Regions from separate parts of the Homo sapiens genome. Here regions 1 and 3 are each linked to region 2. The links are contacts of gene promoters, found by promoter capture Hi-C in blood cells and fetal thymus (Javierre and others, 2016). All regions are on one chromosome and are shown on one strand. The core of a region is centred on a gene start or on the middle of the fragment in contact, and the rest is flanking DNA. Distances in the headings are between cores, read along the strand shown.

Region 1 (3,400 bases), core at 1-2,500, 640 kb after region 2:
GGGACGTGCCGGCCGGAGCTACTCACCAGCCGCAGTGCTGACCAGCAGGATGGTCCATGGTAGCCAGGGCACCCGCCAGGGCCGCTGCAGCGAGGAAGTCATCCCTGGGCCAGCCAAGAATCAGGAGGGCAAAGAAAAGAAATATGGGAAGTAGACCGGCGGAGAAACAGCCGGGAGGCTCGTCTTCTCTCCCGTGGACTGATCCTGCCCGTATCACAATACAGTTTGAAAGGACAAATGGCTGATGAGAGGACCTAGCTGCAGAGCTTTCATGCCGCTGCAGAAATTCCCTTCATTTCTCTCCCTCGCGGCTGGGGGGGTTCCTTCGCCTCGGACGGGGTGCCGCGGCCCTCCAAACGGAAGGCATGTCTGTGGGGAAAGCAGGGAGCCAAGAAGAAATCCCCCAAATTATTTCCCTCGTAGTTTCACGATATCAAAAAAATATCCAGGTCTGGGAGAAAACATATCCAGGGTGCGGAGGGCGGGGATTCGATCCGGGGTCGGGGGGCGAGGGTCAGAACTAGTTCCCGACTGCCGGGAAGGACGAAGCCGGACGGGCGGCGGCGGCGCCCGGCAGCCCTAGTCGCATCGCCCGCGGCTCCGGGAAGGCAGGATTCCTTAAGTTTCGCTTCGGTGCTTCCTTCACTCTGATTTCGAAAACAACAAATCCTCTTCCTTGACTGGATCAAAAAAGGTGCCTGCCTCCATGGACAAGCTCACAGTCCCCACGCCTTCGCAGAACAACCGTGAGAGGGTTGGGGAGGCCCTGGCGAAGGCTGAGGAGAGGTAGGAGCGGGGGAGGGGAGGGGTCGCGGTCGCGGCCCCGGTCCGGGCTCCCCGAGACGGCAGGCGGAGTGGGTGTGAGAGGCTGCCCCTTCTAGTCCTCCCGGCGGCGCTCCCTTCCCTTCCTCGCTTTTTATTCCTGCGGCTCGATCTTGCCTGAGGTAAATTCCACCAAGAAAGCCTCCTCTTCTCCCGTCAATGGCTCCTGTGAGCGAATCACAACCCCCCGAGGAAGCCGCTGCTGCTGCCGCCGCCGCCGCCGCCGCCGCCGCCGCCGCCGCCTCGTTCTCCCGCAGCTCTGGGCTCCTGACGGAACTCGGGCGTCGCGGACCGAGGGCGGGGGGCGGCGGGAGGGCGGATGAAGGTAGCCGGGGAAGGGGGTGGGCAGGGAGGCGGCGAGACACCCTGCGTCCCTCCGGGAGGCACTTCCAGTGGCTCCGAGCAGACCAGACACAAAGGGGGGAGTCGCCGCAGCTGCCAGTCTGCGGCGCTCCCGGTCACCGGAGTCGCCCCGCCTCCGCCGCCGCCTCCGCCTCCTCCTCAGTCTCCGGCTCTTCCCGGCCCTGTCTGTCTCTAGCCTGTGGTGCAGAGCGGGCGGCGGCGGCGGCGGCGCCGGCGGCGGGATGAAGCCCGCACTGCGCCTGCGCGCTCACGGCCCCGCCCGGCCCCGCCCCTCGTTCGGGGCTGGCTGAGGGCTCCGAGGCCCCACCGCAGCGCGTCTCTCCGGTGAATGGCCGAGGGCTGGGTGGGGCTGCGGTGGGCAGCGGTGGCCTTTCTCCTTCACACACATACACATGCCTTCCAAATGTGCATGGCTTGGGATTCGCGTATTTGTTTAAGAGACGACGGCCACATCCTTTTGTTCGGCGTTCAGCAGACTCCTCCGAGTTCCGGGATTTCTCCCGACTGAGGCGTCTCCGTCTCAGTACTCTCGGAGGAAAGCCTCGAGGGGCAGAACTGCCCTCTGTTGTTTCACGGGGCTGGAACCTCCCTCTCCGCAGCCCAAAGAATCCGGATGGACCCGCCTTTCCCAGAACCGGAGACCTTGGCCTCCTCAGGCTCCCCTCTGACTCAAACAAAAGCCGGAATTGGAAAGACCACCCCTTTGATGTGTTCGCTGTAATCGACGTCCTGCTTTCCTCAACCGCCCATTCCCTTAGCCTTCTTAGTTGACAGGAATATTGAGTATTTGCAAGGATGCGAAGCCAGAAAAAAAAAAAAGACTTTTAATTCTATAAATCGTCCCGCTGCGTGCGCGCGTCTGTCCGTACAGCGCGGTGCCCACCCCGAGAGAGGGCCTGGATTCACCAAGGCTGGGGGCCTTGAGGGCTTTTTAGGGCACGTGAAAGGAAAATGGAGTTAGAGTTGTGTCGGGATAGAGAGTGGGATCATTTTGCACTCAAGGAATTGAGAAGATCCCGTTGGTACCGCAGTTTCCAAGGATTTGTGTAGTGCGTTTTTTGGATCTGGTTTGTACAAGCGACCAGTATAGGAGACGGGATCCCTCCCGCCCTTACACCCCGCTGCGGGGTCAGCCGACGTGGGTGGGATTTTGCTGGCGGCGAGGGGAGAAGGTGACGTGCGTGGCGCCATGATCGGAAGTCTGGACTGAATTCTTAGCTGCGAGGTGGAAAATGCGCGTGGGAGGGCGATCTTGAGGGGTGAAGTCTGGCCTTCCCATCTCCTACCAGGCAGGAGGGTTATGCTGAAGGCTGGTTTTGCTGGTCTTTCATTGTGGCTAAGGGCAGTTCCACAGATACAGTCATAGATAGACTCCTTAAGTCATGCTCTGCTTGCTTCTTCTAGTCCGCTGTTACCTCTTTATCTGAATTTGATGTAAATAAATCTCCACATTCCTTAAACTGGTTCTGTTATACTAAACATCTTCCATAATTAGGGGTTGTAGCAATACCAACCCCGGATTCTAAGACTCTTTTTAGTTGAAATATGTTTATGCTGTTTACCCTTTAGACAGAGAAAAAAAAATTCTACCTAGTAAAATCCCTTAAAAAGACGAAGAGCATATGCTTTGATTCATTAGCTTTATTTATTTAGGTTTTATTTATTTATTTATTTATTTATTGAGGCGGAGTCTTGCTCTGTCGACCAGGCTGCGGTGCAGTGGCGCGATCTCGACTCACTGCAACCTCCACCTCCCAGGTTCAAGCAATTCTCCGGCCTGAACCTCCCGAGTAGCTGAGATTACAGGCGGCGCCATCACGCCCGGCTAATTTTTGTATTTTTAGTGGAGACAGGGTTTCACCATGTTTGCCAGGCTGGTCTCGAACTCCTGACCTCACGTGATCCGCCCGTCTCGACCTCCCAAAGTGCTGGGATTACAGACGTGAGCCACCGCCCCCGACCGATTCTTTATAGCTTTATTACTGTATTTTGTTTTGCCCAAAAGGTCTAAATTAGAAACGGTATTGTTTTACCATTTGTCTTTCAAGAACTGAGAGTTTCTAGCACTCAGAGAAATTGGATTTTAGTATGTTAGAGGTGCAGAAAGTTTAAAGTTTATTAATTCGTAGTACACTTTTATCTTCCTCAAATTGAGATCAAGTACTTCATCATTCAATTTTTATTTGCTTAAGATTTTTTCCAAGAAACATTAAGT
Region 2 (3,208 bases), core at 473-2,972:
GAAAAAGAGGAAAACAGAAAATCCTTTAAACGCTTTTAAGTTTGGGGTTATTCATTATGACTAAATACACTATTATCTATTAAATAAAGTGTTACTACTGCCAGTCACAAATTTTATAATAAAGTATTTTAAAACATAAAAATAAAAAGGAAAGCAATTACCTTTGTACAATAAAGCATCCAAAGTTCAAAGAGCCTCTCTCTGGATGCCATTCTGGCTTTCACTCTGGCACTTTAAGTTTTCCTTAAAAAAATTATGTTCAAGACTACAGCATGTCCATTTTATTTTCCAAGTTTTTCAGCCGTTCAGTAAAGCTCATAGCAGTAAAGAAAGCAAAAAGAAGTGAAACAAATGGACTGTCCTCTGGTTAAAAACAAAAAGGCAATTTCAGCAGTCACTCCAATATATCTTCATCAGTGGTAGTTGGGCAATTAAATAAATCTGTGAAAGAGAAAAACATCCACAGGTTAGAAAAAGAGGCCATACTAAAAAATCTAGACTTATCAAAAACTAAAGATGTATCTTCTTCACTTCCCACAAACAACCCGCTATACTTTCACATGGACTGATTAGATTTCATAGAAACTTGTGTTTCAGGAAAACATCACAGCTAACACAGTATGTCCACCATAGAATCCTCTAGGGCAGACAGACTCCTAGAGATGGGTACATGTTCATAACCAAGAATGCGTCCAGTGAGAATAAGGAGCAAGACTCCCTTCCCACTCATACCTTTTGTACAGATACAAGGAAAAGGCCCACATCTCAGACATTTCAAATACATCAAAGCTCTTAGAATGTTCTTGTTCTGGTCTCCTCTTCAAAGTTGTTGGGGCCAGGCGCGGTGGCTCACGCCTGTAATCCCAGCACTTTGGGAGGCCCAAGTGCGTGAATCACCTGAGGTCAGGAGTTCGAGACCAGCCTGGCCAACACAGTGAACCCCTGTCTCTACTAAAGAAATACAAAAAATTAGCCGGGCGTGGTGGCGGGCACCTGTAATCCCAGCTACTCAGGAGGCTGAGGCAGGAGAATTGCTTGAACCCGGGAGGCAGAGGCTGCAGTGAGCCCAGATCACGCCACTGCACTCCAGTCTGGGCGACAGAGCAAGACTCCGTCTGGGGTGGGGTGGGGGTGGAGTAGTTGGGACTGTTTGCTGTGTTGCAGGGCAGGGCGTGGGGGCGGGGGAGGAATTCCCAGTTCGTTTGTTCTAACAATCCTCGGAGAGTGGAAGTCCACCCGCCCACCTGGCCTCTCCACCTTTCCATCCAAGAGAAGTGGGCACGCACACACCGGCGAGGAACTTCCCAAAGAAGCATCCAAGTGTTTGGGGGAATCTTTTAATTTCCTCCTCACATCCCAAGACAACCCAAACAGAGGCAAACTTAAGGTGTGCCGAGCTGCCAAGAGAAGCTCTAGAACTGAGGAATGCGGACTCGGCGTCTCCCGACCGCGATCCCAGCCTGCACTACAGTATCGGAACACTCCCTGACAGCCTAGCCCACTCAAAGCCGCCCCTCACTCTGCAGCCCCTCCACCACCAAGCACCGGGGCCCTCCCATTTCTTGCCATGCCGCCCCCTCTTCCCAACGGCCCGCTCCCCATCACCGGGCTCACATTGTGTGCCGCGCGGCAGCCGCCGCCCGGCAGCCGTCTAACTGCTTCCCTCGACCCCTTCCCAAGGCGAAGCCCCGTGTCACCCCGCAGCCAGGCAGACGAGCGGGCGGGACATGGGGGCGGGGCGAGAGGCCGGGAGGAGCAGGGGGCGGGGCTGCCCCCTGGGCTAATCATTTCGGCCGCTGAGGATTTACCCAGCCGTTGGGCGGCAGCTGTTCAATGGTCGCGTAGGCTGGGGATGGGCGGGGTGACCTGAAGCCCCGCCCCAGCATACCTGCGCAGCCGCAGTCGACAGGCTCTGGCTGCCCATCCCTTGGCGGGCGCCGGCCGCGGCACTGAAACGAGCCTTCCCTCAGCTGGACATGGAGGAGGGCTGACGTGCTGACGTCTACGCCCGCCCCGCTTTTCGCTGATGGCGTCATTTCCGTGAGTCATCTGAGGGCGTGAGACCCTACGGTGTTAAAGGGGATTTTGTTTCACTTATTTGTAGAACCGGGATTGGTTCTGGGAATTTAGAGTAATGTAAAAAGACAAAACACACACAGACACCCCCCAAAAACTCCTCTTTTCCTTTTGTGCCTGCTTTCGTCGTCACCGAGTGTCATATCCAAAGGGCTTATTTTACCACCACTAAAGACTTCGAAAGGGTTTTTCTTTTTCAGAAAAGAAGCAAAAGGCTTTACTAACTATAGACAACTTTCAGAGAGATTTGGTTTTTGTATAAGGAAAGAAAAACGCGTAAGATAACTCACCTTTGTTAAACATTTCCACAACTTTTTATTGTGAAAGATTTCAAGTATATTCTAAAGTAAACTAGTATAACGAAACCCTGTATACCGTCACCCAACTTCAAAAATGATCAACTAATGTCCCATCTTGTTTCATTTGTAACAAGGATCCACAAATTGCCTGTGAAGAGCCAGAGACGAGGCGCAGTGGCTATCGCCTGTAATTCCAGAATTTTGGGAGGTCTAGGCGGGCGAATCCCTTGAACCCAGGAGATCAGCCTGGGCAACAGAATGAGACCCTGTCTCTGCAAAAGAAATTTTAATTAGCTTGGCGTGGTGGTGCACGCCTGTAGTTCCAGCTACTTAGAAGCTAAGGTGGGAGAATCGCTTGAACCTGGGAGTGAAGGTTGCAGTGAGCTCCGATGGCGCCACTGTACTCCAGCCTGGGCGACAGAGCGAGACACTGTCTCAAAAAATAAAAATAAAATAAAAAGAGCCAGACAATAAATGTTATAGGCTTTGCAGTCCATTCTGGTTGCAACTTGCTTAACGAAAATCAAAAGAACAATATTTTGAGATGTGAAAATTAGACGAAATTCAAATTCAAGTTTCAGTGTCCTAAAATTTTAGTGGAACACAACCATGCCCATTCCTTTAGTATTGCCTATAGCTGCTTTCACTCTACCATGGCAGAATTGAGAGTAGTTGCTTGCAAATTACACCTTCAATTTTTTATCCTGAAATTACATTTTACATTCAGCATTTCTCCTTGGTTGTCCATTAGGCATGTGAAATTTATATGTCAAAATTTTGGGGGGAAAATATGCTTTTCCTTTGGGATACCCTATTTTAGTACTTAGCAACTC
Region 3 (3,439 bases), core at 4-2,503, 850 kb before region 2:
TTAGGAAATTTAAATACTTCTAAGAGTGTTTATTTAATCTTTACATATTTAAAACATGTAAAAATAAGAAAACATATATGAATATTTCTTCTCCAGTAAAAATTAAATCATCAAATATCTTTTGAGTACCTACTTCATACAAACTACATGGTTTCTTAACCAAGAAGGTCTAGAGAGAGATAAGGTTGAGATTCAATGGATATACTCATCATTTTAAGCCGTGTAACAAACCTGGTGTCAGTCTCTGAAGAGCTGAAAACTGAGGATCTGCATCTGAAACCCACACGTAGGTCAGGCAACAATTAAGTATTGTATGCCAAACAGACTGGTGGCTTTCTTTCTTTCCTTTTCCTTGTCTTTTTTTTTTGGCAATTTCAAACTTTTATTTTTAAATAATTGGCTAATTAGCTAGTAGAATTGATTAAGAGAACCTTAAAACCTTGAATTAAGTAAAGAAGGCATTCTTCCCACAATTTCCCTACATTTTAAACAAGCTGGCTAATTCATTTATAAAGTATATGAATCCGAGGACCTTAAAACCTTGAATTGTATAGCAAAAAAACTCTTCCCAGGATTTGCTTAAGTCAATTTTTTTTAAAGGAACTTGTGAGCTCATCCTGAAACCCAGCTCAAATGTATTCAGGACTATGGCTATCCTTTCCCTCTTAAATCACTTCCAGTCTCATAGAAGGGTCTGAAATTGCCTGTGTCTCTCTACTAAACCAACTCACATGCATTCATGAAGCCCCTACTAAATACCTGGCGCTCTGTTCTGAGCTATCTCTTTGCCTTATTTGCTGCCGCCCAACTGCTCCCTGCTGGCCCTGGAATACAGAGCCAGCCAAGCCAGATTGGAGTTTTACCTTTAACTTCTGGCTTTGCTATAAATCACTGCCTTTGACTGCTGAAACAAATGAAACCCAGGTAGGAGAAACACCTCCTCCATCTTCATGCTCCAAAAGTCTCACTCACCTTTGCAGAAGACAGGGATGAAGAGAAGAAAAAACAGGAGAGTGCAGGGCCAGGTCCTGGTAGCCAGGTTCAGCTGAGCCTTGTGCCGCTGAAATCCAAGGCAAGCCATGGCTTTATGGGAGCGGTGTTCAGGTCTTCAGGAAGTAGAGCAAAACCTTTCAGGATCCTGAAGCTTTGAAATGTGTTTGAACCCACACAGAATCAAGGACTTTATATAGATAGCTTTGATCCCAGATATGTATTACACATGTGCACACACAGAAGGCACTTGAATAGAAAGCCTTTTTGTTTTGGTTTTACGAGAAAGGAAGCCGTGGGTTTAGCTGTTACGTCGAAAAGACAACCTCAAGCACTCAACTGAACAAAACAAGCCAATCCATGGATGGAAAATGTATTCAATTTGAAACTGAAGCTTCATGTTCACTTTGAGGATCTGGATAACTAAGTGGAGACTTGGAGAATTTCCTGGAGTACAAGGGTCCTCCTAAATCCCAATTTTATTCAATCTTCTGGGCATCCTTAACCATCCAGTCCAATTCATTTCATTGACAACTCCAAAACTACTAGGCTGCTAACTTTCTGAGCCCTTGGGCTAATGGCAGGATTTGTCTAGGCATCATTAATAAAAACTGTATTCTATCTGTGAAGCACCATCCTTCTAATGGTCCCTTGACAGCTTTACAAATAAGTTTATTTCTCCTAAATCCATTTAGCATTTGGTTAAGAGAAAAAAACTAAAATCACAAGAAATAAACTGAAAATAGGCGGAAAAGAAGCTGCCTCTGGTTTTGCAGAAGGAAAGAATTCAGGTGTTCTTAAAAGCCTTAACTCAACAGAGACAAAACAGAGTTGAAGAAGGTCCAAAGAAAAGCCAACCCAAATGATTCAAGAGATTAGAGCCGTCCATAAAAGGATAGACTTTTTTTTCTAATACAAATTTTTCAAGCAGAAAATTCAAAAGTGAAGATTAAATATAACCAGAGTCCTTAAATTTGTGACAGCTGTAGACAGGACCAATGATCTAACAAAAAGAATTTGAAACATTGAGGACCTTCCTTAAATCTGGAGAGTTTTCATACATTTTAATAAAGAAAGAAACATTCATGGGGAACCTGTAATATGCCCGGAATTCTGTGCACTTAGGATTGAATGATGACAAAACAAAAACATAGTTGATACCTTAAGGGGCTTCTAGAAGGCTGACATGCAAACAGACAGTTGTAACAGGGAATATGACATTTGCCTACTCCAGTCCGTCCATGGTTTCCCATTGTCCACACCTCAGCACAGCAGAGGAGACTCTGCAGAATACTCACCAAATGCCTCCCTCTTTGGCCTGTACCCCAGCATTCCCTCCCATTCCCCCTTCCTGCATTTGTCTTTCCTTCCACGTGCCTCTTTCAGGCCTCATCACCTTTACCCATGCTGTTCCTACTGCCTTTTTTCTCCTATTATCTTATTTTATACTCCTTCTCATCCTCCAGGACTTAGCTCAGCTGTCATCTCCTCCAGGAAGCCTCTTCTTTTTTTTTTTAAAATTTTATTATTATTATACTTTAAGTTTTAGGGTACATGTGCACAACATGCAGATTTGTTACATATGTATACATGTGCCATGTTGGTGTGATGCACAGAAGCCTTTTCTGACCTGCCTGTTTTCTATACACTGCTACACATTATAGAAACCTTCAAGCCCCAGCTCAAGCGCCAACAAGCAATAACAACCTAATGGGCACTTCCTAATGCCAGACTGGGCAACAGAGGTTTTTTAAAAAGTGAAAAACAAATGTTCCTGCCCTCAAGAGGAACACACAGCAGTGGCAGGGACAGACAGCTAAACCCATGATCATGATAGAGTGAGATCAATGCTGGAATTGAAGTATTATGTAGAGGAGCAGAAGCCAGTGGTTCAGCCTGTGGAAGTCAGAAAGGGCTTCTCAGAAGACGAAAAGCCTGAACTTATTATTGAGAACAGAGAAAAGGGTGGATATTCAGACAAGAAGAATAACATGGGCTAAAGTTGGAAACGGCATGAAGAGTTCATTATGGTCACAGGACAAAGCTTGTCTGGGGATGAGCAGAAGGTGCAAGCGGATGCTCTTAGCAGCAAGGGCCAATGAAACATAAGGAGCAAACTGGTATGACTGAGTTCACATTTGGGGGAAATTTTAGGGATGGGGAGGATGGGTTCAGGGAGAAATGTAACCAGGAAGACTGGGAAGAAGACTATTGGAATACGCCAGGCACCAGGATTTGGAAAGCTTTCTGAAGGGGGCAAAATAGTAAATATGTTATGATTTGCAAACGGTGGGGTCTCTGTTGCCACTACTCAACTCTGTCATTTTAGAATGAAAGAAGCCATATATTATATGTAAACAAATGGGTGTGTGTGCATTCCAATAAAACTTCATTTACGAAAATAGGTGAAGTCTGGATTTGGCCTGTGGGCCATGGTTTGCCAACCCCT

What was found. Contacts are between HindIII fragments. The CHiCAGO score rates a contact against its expected background, and 5 or more counts as called.
Region 1: a contact is called between the fragment with the promoter of BMPR2 here and the fragment with the promoter of NBEAL1 in region 2, in 2 of 17 cell types (total B cells and neutrophils). The highest score is 5.9, in total B cells.
Region 3: the fragment with the promoter of CTLA4 here is called in contact with the fragment with the promoter of NBEAL1 in region 2 in 4 of 17 cell types (fetal thymus, naive CD8 T cells, total CD8 T cells and 1 more); the score reaches 9.3 in fetal thymus.

Annotation. Positions count from the first base shown.
Region 1 is chr2:202,374,177-202,377,576 of GRCh38, reverse strand. It overlaps BMPR2 (bone morphogenetic protein receptor type 2), which reads right to left and starts at 1,250. Exons shown (of 13, transcript NM_001204.7): 1 at 27-1,250. The coding sequence starts at 102. RefSeq lists enhancers at 1-688, 1,843-2,132, 2,243-2,402 and silencers at 743-802, 873-932, 1,063-1,552, 1,703-1,752. The HindIII fragment of the contact is 13,398 bases long and covers 1-3,400 here.
Region 2 is chr2:203,013,389-203,016,596 of GRCh38, reverse strand. It overlaps NBEAL1 (neurobeachin like 1), which reads right to left and starts at 1,722. Exons shown (of 56, transcript NM_001378026.1): 1 at 1,615-1,722; 2 at 162-441. The coding sequence starts at 212. RefSeq lists a silencer at 1,621-1,850 and an enhancer at 1,489-2,042. The HindIII fragment of the contact is 7,356 bases long and covers 1-3,208 here.
Region 3 is chr2:203,865,585-203,869,023 of GRCh38, reverse strand. It overlaps CTLA4 (cytotoxic T-lymphocyte associated protein 4), which reads right to left and starts at 1,253. Exons shown (of 4, transcript NM_005214.5): 1 at 973-1,253. The coding sequence starts at 1,081. The HindIII fragment of the contact is 240 bases long and covers 1,147-1,386 here.